Linked DNA regions of Homo sapiens: region 1 is linked to region 2. The links are contacts of gene promoters, found by promoter capture Hi-C in human tissues and cell types (Jung and others, 2019). All regions are on one chromosome and are shown on one strand. The core of a region is centred on a gene start or on the middle of the fragment in contact, and the rest is flanking DNA. Distances in the headings are between cores, read along the strand shown.

Region 1 (3,589 bases), core at 96-2,595, 43 kb before region 2:
TAGCTGACGTTTTTTGATCACCTACTAAGAGCCAGGCACTGTTCTAGCACTTTATGTGCATTAGCTTATTTATTCCTCACAATAACCCCATAAAGTAAGTTATCATTATCCCCTTCACAATCTCACTTCACTCCAATGAGAAGGCTAGGCAAAGGGACACAGTGGAATGTGTCCCAAGCTTTGTTCCTTTGGGGAACAACCTTGGCAGATCACAGGCACAGGGAAGGAAGAAAGAGAGGCCAGTTGCATACCTTGAGCTGATTCTGAGTCAGTGAGAATAATGATAGATAACATTTATAGCGCTTTTACTATGTGCCAGGCATGGTGCCATCCAATTAGCTAATAATAAGAGGTAACACTGAGTTCCATGCAGGGCACTTTATATCAATGATCTGATTGAATCCTCACAATAGCTGTCTTTAAAATTTCTATTACAGAATCAGGAACAGTGGCTCAGAGAGGTTGAGGGACTTGCCCAAGGTCACACAGCTAGTTAGTGGAGGATCTGGAATTCAAACAGGCTCTGGCAGTGGGAGGGAAATGAGGATGGGCCGGGAGGTGCTCAGTGGCTGCTGGAAAGGACAGGCCTGCGTTTGGCTCTCAGCATGAACCATGTCCTTCCCCCACGCTACTTGACGTGACTTAACCCAGGCCTGAGTCCCTCCTTAAGGCCTGACCTCCCGTGCAAATTATGAACATGTATGAGTATGCACACACACACACACACCATGCACACACACACACCGTGCACACACACACACCGTGCGCACACACACACACCGTGCGCGCACACACACCGTGCGCACACACACATACCGTGTACACATGCAGACTCCTTGGCTAGCACTGCTCACCTGCCCAGGGGCAACCTGTTAGAACCCTCCACCTCAGGTGCCCCTGGCCTGCACCTGTCTCCCTGCCCTGCCCCCACCCTGCCCGTGTGCCGGTGCCACCGGCAGAGCCGTGCTGTACATCATGTTGACAGTAGAAATTACATCCCGAGCTGCTGTTTTACACCGCGCCCTGTCAGAACTCACTGCAGCCCAGTGATCAGGACAAATTGAATACCATCCTGGCCGTGTCAATATTTATTCCATTTTACAAACGCGTCCGGATGGGGGCAGGGCCCTGCCATGGTGCCAGCCAAGCAGAGTCCCAGGAGGCCCTTCTCCCTCCAAACCGCCTCCTCCTTGCTCTTTTCCCCTCTTCCTCCTCCTCTTTCTCTACTTTTCATAATTAATTAAAATTGTACAATTCAGCCTTGATAATGAAAGCTGCACAAATCATACATGCATAGTTTAACGAAAAGTCATAAAATGAACCCATGAATCCACACTTTGAGCAAAATACTGAAAATAGCCCCCTCCTCAGAAGCTCCTACTGTGTGTCCCATTCTTGAACATAACCCATTGGTTCCTTCTGTCCTGGCTTTTATGACTAGTTCCTTGCATTTCCTTATTGTTTGTCTCCCAACTATGCATTTCTGACCATCTTAGTTTAGTCTTGCTTGTTTTTGAGCTTGTATATCATACTGAATGGTCTTTTGCATCTTGCTTCTTTTTCTCAGCATTATGTTTGTGAGATTCGTCTTTGTTCTTGCATGTGTTCCTTTTCACTGCTGCATAGTACTCCATTGCATGAATATACCGTGACTTAGAAATCCATTCATCCATTCTCCTTTTTCTTCTTCTTTCCCCTTTTCTCCCACTTTTCCTTCCCTTCCACCTTCTTCTCTTCTTCTTCCTACTTCTCTTCCTGTTCCACCTCCTGGTTGCCTGCCCCCTGTTGTTCTATTGTTTTGTCTGCTACATCTGGGAGCTGTGCACACATTCACACAGATACACACACACACACACACACACACACATTGATCCCAGCTCCTCCATCCTACTGAACTACTGGGGGCCCAGATGCCCCCTCTGGGTCTCTCTCTCTCTCTCTCCCTACCCAGATTTTGGGTATGTGGCTCCAGCCAGAGGGAGGCTCTCTGTGGACCTGAGTCTATTAAAGTTTATCTGTTTTAGAGGATTCCTGGGGCAGAGACTGGGGGAATGGTACAGCAGGGTCCTTTGTCCTCACACATCCTGTCTCTACTGTAGCAGCCTTGGGGAGAAGGCCTCTCTTCCCACTCTCACCTACTCTGGGCTGGGGTGGGAACTGAGGTGGCCCCAGGTGGCCTTATGGCTGTCCGTAGGATGCACAGCTGTGCAGGGAGAGAGGACTGGGACCTGGGTCATTCAGGGGCCAAGCCTCAGCCTCAGCTCTGCTCATTGAAGGTCTTGTGGAGCACCCGTCCTGTGCCTAGCATTGTGTCTCACCAAGGCAGAGAAGGACCTGCAGGCTGGTGTGTGTCTGGGGCCTCCTAGGAGCCATTACAGAGCAGGTTTGGAGACCCCAGGAGCATGTGTGACACATTTCATTCCAGTCTCCCTTAGCCCCTTCTCTGTCTTGGAGCTGCTTTGATGATGCACATATTCGGGATAGTTAATTTTTATTGTAACCTGAGCAGATGACATTAAAGAATCTGTCCCTTTGTGGTACGGGAGAAAGCTCTCTAGGCTGGACGGCAAGTGGAGTAGGTTGGAGCTTGGCTTTGATCCCATAACACTGGGTGACCTTGGGCAAGTCCCTGCCCTGGACTTCTATACAATGGAAGGTCAAACTGCAGTTCTCAGGGCTCATCAGAGGACAGGGTCATGCCGGTGTATAGCAAGGTGAGGCTTGTTCAAAATCTCATTGCCAGGCCTCTGGAGCCCCAGATTCAGTAAGGATGATAATAGTACTAACAGGAAGGTCTATAGGGTGCTTTTTTTTTTTTTTGCCTTTTTCCACATGTTCTAATAGGGTGCTTTCTATGTGCCAGAGACTGTGCCTTTGATGAGCAAAAAGAAGAGGCTGTACTTTTTGACCACTCTGCTAAGCACACTCCATAGGTTATCTTGCTTCATCTGTGCCACATCTGTTTTATTATAATTGTTATATTACAGATAAAGAAACTGGAGCACCGAGAGGTGAAGTCACTTGTCCAAGATTACAGCCAGGAAGTGGGAGAAGCCAGGACTTGAACTAGGAAAGTCTGGTGCCAGAGCCTGTCCTCAGTCTGGGATAGCTTCTAGCAGATTCTGATGTTGGCCTGAGAGCCTCTGGAGCAGGTGGTCCACAAGTTGTGGAACAGAGATCAAGCATGGTACACTAACTGTGTGCCCAGCCCCGAGCCAACTGCTACATGTTTTCACAGTGATTCAACAAGGTATGTGTGAAGGGCTCATTCCCACACACAACCAGTGTGAGCTCTTATTGCTCTTATTTTAGGCAATTGTCACACCATCCTCCTGAGATGGGCTTTAGTCTCTCCAGTTACCAATGAACAAAGAAAAGTGTCAAGAAGAGAGGTGGCTTGCTGAGAACCACATGGCTAGGGGCCAACTCCAAAGCAGTGAGCTTCCGCCCCAGCATACTCTGCTTCCATTCCCTGACTCAGCTCTGCAGCTGAATGGCGTCTCCCAACTCTCCCAACCTCAGTCTTTCCATCTGTGAAATGGAGGAGTTGGACTATTGGGCTGGGAGCCCCTGACACCATGTGTGACCT
Region 2 (3,681 bases), core at 50-2,549:
CTTCAAACAGCAGCTTCTCTGCCCGCCACAAGGGGGTGCCCTGCACCTCGGGGAGACCTCGGGGGATCCTGGATCAGCCCTACCCTCTGCAGCCCCGCCTGGGACAGGGCCCGACGTTGCCAGAGAAGAGGCAGCGGGGAGGCGCGAGCGAGACGGGTCCACACTGTGCCCACCCAGGGCTGCCCGGCACCCCGCGCGCCCACGCAGTCCACTCTTCACAGTAAACGCCGCGGCCCCCGAGGGTTAGCCCTAAGTGGCGCTCTCTTTGGACGTTAGGCTGTCGGGGGCCCCGTCCTTCTTCCCCAGCGGGGACGGTGTCTCCGGAGTCGGGTCCTAAGGAAGAGAGCAGCGCTGGCTCTCGCTCACCGCCAGCCCGCCCGACGGCCATAGGGCAGGGGGGGTCGCGCCGGTGGGGCCGGCAGGGGTCCCTGTGGGCCGCCTCCCCGGCTCAGAGGGGACCAGAACCGTGCGTGTCGCCGCGGCTGGAGTCAGCCTCCGGGTGTCCCCGGACGCGGCACGACCTCGCACACACACACCGCGCGCACACGCTCGCGCCGTGCGGTATTTTCCCGGCCCCGGACCCCGCCTCTGGGAGGGGCCGGGGAGCCGAGCCCCGCTAGCAGGGTTGGGGGACCGGGAACGCCTGGGTCCCAGCCCTCGCGTCAGGGCTGTGCGCCACCTTCCCAGCCCCTTTTGGCGCGCCGGCTCGGCCCCTGGCGCTGCCACCCCTCGGCCCGCGGGGGTCCCGGAGGCTCCCGGGCGCGCGGCGGACGAGGTTGTGGGGACGGGTGGGAGCTGCGGGCTTCGGGCCGAGAGGCGGCTCGGCTCCGCGCCGGGGAAAGTTTGGACGTGGGAAACTCCCTCCCCGCCCTCCCGGCCGAGAGGAGGGGGCGCGCAGGGCCGGGCGCAGGCACCCCGGCTCCTCCTGCGGCTGGAGGCTCGCCCCCCGCGCCGCCTGCCCGGCCGCTCCCGCCGGCCAGGGGGCTCCCTCCCTGCCGGGCAGCCTCCCCTCGGCGGCGATCCGGCCGCTCCTCCCGCGGCACCCCGCGCTCTTACCTCGGGGAGCGGCCCGGGGCTCCCCCTAGTCCTGCCGCCTCGGGACGCTGCGTGGGGCGGGAGCCCCGGCGCGGGCAGCGGGCGAGTCCGGAGCCCCGCGGCCGCCCGCAGGAGCCGGAGGGAGAGCGGGAGCGAGAGGGGGAGCCGCGGCGGCGTGTGCGCGCGTGTGTGTGAGCGAGAGAGCGAGAGAGCGAGAGAGCGAGGGAGTGAGCGAGCGAGCGGGAGCGAGGGAGTGTGCGTGTCTGACTGGGGGGAAGTGTGCAAGGGACGGATCCCTTCCTTCCTCCCGCAGCCTCTGGTGGAGACTCGGAGAATGCAGGGCCCGCCGGGCAGGAGCCGCGCAGCGCCAAGCCGCAGGCGGCCGCCGGCCCGGACCCCCGCAGCCGGGGAACCCCAGCCCCCGCCCCCCGGATCGCGCCCCTCCTACACCAGGAGGGGACAGCCTTTCCCTCTCTCGGGCGGCCCAGTCCCAGGAAACCCCCCAGGGGACAGTGCCCCTCCCTCCTCCAACCCCAGATCCGCGCGAAGGGAGCGCCCCCAGGAGGGGGACCATCTACCTCCTCGCCTGGCAGCTCCCCAGGTGGCCGCAGTTTGAGACCAGAGCCTATTTCCCCACCTGATTTTACTGCGAATAGGGCTTCCCATTTCCGCCCCCTGACTACTGCGGGAGGCCGCCTTCAGAGGAGCAGGGGCGCAGGCCAGGGTAGGAGCAGGCTTCTCGAACAGTGGCCGCCCCGGCTTGCTGCCCAGAAAGGCACCTTGCACAGACCAGATCTGCCAGTTCAGAAACAGTCACTGTGCATTGAGGTGGACACCGACCAGGTGCCCAGGGCTGAGTCTCCAGGCAGGTGGGAGGTCGGGTGTCCCCGGGAGAGAAACTTGTGGGCTTTTCCTCTGGAGAGTCCCGCTGGACATCCTTGCAACCAACAAAGTAAGCAGGCAAAACAAGACACCTCCATCCTTAACTTGGTGCCACCTTGACCTGGAGAAGTCTCCCAATAAAATCTTCCCACTGCCCAGAAACTCCTTGCTGGTTGGGTTTTCCGTTCTTTTAAAAATCCGGCTGGTCTGCTCCCTGATGTTTTTTCCACCTGGCCCTGTTTCTTTCTCCTGGCTGCCTGGCTCTCCTTACTACTTCATCTCTCTGGGATGAGGCCTAATGGAGGAGACCCTCCCACCCCACTCCTGAGTTCCCAATATGAGGTCGTTGATGGTAGGATAGGACCAGTGACTCCCATAGACCCACCCTTTGTCTTGGGTTGTAGGTCCCCTTAGGAGTTGCCCGCCCCCCTATTCCCCATGGCTTCCAGATAGGTGAGTGAAGGATAACAGGAGACTGGACAGCTGCAGACCTCTGTCCCGCCAAGCTGCCAATGACCAGCCATTTAATCACCCACAAGCAGCTGCTGAAGTTCATGGCAAAGAGGGGGCAGGGCCCTCCAGGACCCCCAGCTCTACCTCGCCCCTATCCTTCTCTCCTCCTCGCCTCCTTCCCCAATTTCCATCTCCATCTCCACACCCTAGTCCGTCTTGCTGATGATTGGAATCACCTCTCCTGCTGGCTGCCCCTCTGGCCCCTCCTACTAAACTCCATCATTCATTTATTTATTTTGAGATGTATTCTCCACTGTGCCAGTCTGTTCCCTCCCCTACGTCCTTCTCTTGGTTTATTTCCCTTCATTGATCTCTTCCAGCCTTGCCTTTCTATCGCCTTCCTTTTCTCCATCTCTCTCTTCCCCTCTCCTCTCTATTCTTAGCCTCCACTCTTTCATGCTTTCAGAGACCAGAGGCCAGCCTTCCAGGTGCATCTCTTCACTTTTGGTTCTCTCCTCCCGCTCTGACTCACTTTTGCTGTTTGCTCCAGTTCCCATTCCTTCTTTGCCTCTTCCTCCAGGCTCTGGTGTGTGCTGTTCATCTCTGGAGTCAGACCTACTTAGTTGTCCACAGGTTGTTTTGGTCTGGGACACTGTTGCTGTCACATCTGCATGCACACAGTAGGTGCTCAATAAATGTTATTGAATGAACTGTTGTCACATCTTTCTCTTTTGCTCTGGTCTCTCTCTTCTCTCTCTTTTATTTTTATTTTTTTTTGAGATGGGGGTCTCACTATGTTGTCCAGGCTGGATTCCTGGACTCAGGTGATCATTCTGCCTCAGCCTCTCAAGTAACTGGGACACCAGGCATGTGCTGCTGCACCCAGCTCCCCATGACTCTTTATTAGACCCTCAGGTTTTCCTATCCCAATGTTTCCTATTTTCAGGCTCATTCTACCGTTATTTCCAATTCTTCCTTCCTTCAACAAACTTTCTCTGAGTGTCCACTCTGTTGTGAGCACTATGGCTAGGCTCTGAGAACACATTGAATGTTTATTGAGCACTTGCTGTGTGCCATAGTTCTGCTTTTAAGTCCTCACAATAATCAGATACTAGTATTAGCCCATTTTACAAATGAGGAAACTGAGACACGGTGTTGAAATAGCAAGATCATTCAGACGGCAAGTAGAGAGATCAGGTTGACGCATTGGGCCTGGGTCAGACCTCTCACTCTGGTCTGGGAGAAGGTAAGCTGGGACTCCTGCTGCAGTGTGGCAGGGGCAGCAAGAGGCAGTGTAGTGTGACAGAGGAA

Evidence for each region. Contacts are between HindIII fragments. The study calls those that stand out against the background at their distance.
Region 1: a contact is called between a fragment that was not itself captured here and the fragment with the promoter of CDH22 in region 2, in 1 of the 25 tissues and cell types used here (liver).

Annotation. Positions count from the first base shown.
Region 1 is chr20:46,264,106-46,267,694 of GRCh38, forward strand. All of the region lies in intron 1 of CDH22 (cadherin 22), which reads right to left. Among named protein-coding and RNA genes, the nearest start is that of CDH22, 43 kb to the right of the region's middle. The HindIII fragment of the contact is 4,356 bases long and covers 1-3,523 here.
Region 2 is chr20:46,307,199-46,310,879 of GRCh38, forward strand. CDH22 (cadherin 22) reads right to left here and starts at 1,300. Exons shown (of 12, transcript NM_021248.3): 1 at 1,057-1,300. The HindIII fragment of the contact is 29,361 bases long and covers 1-3,681 here.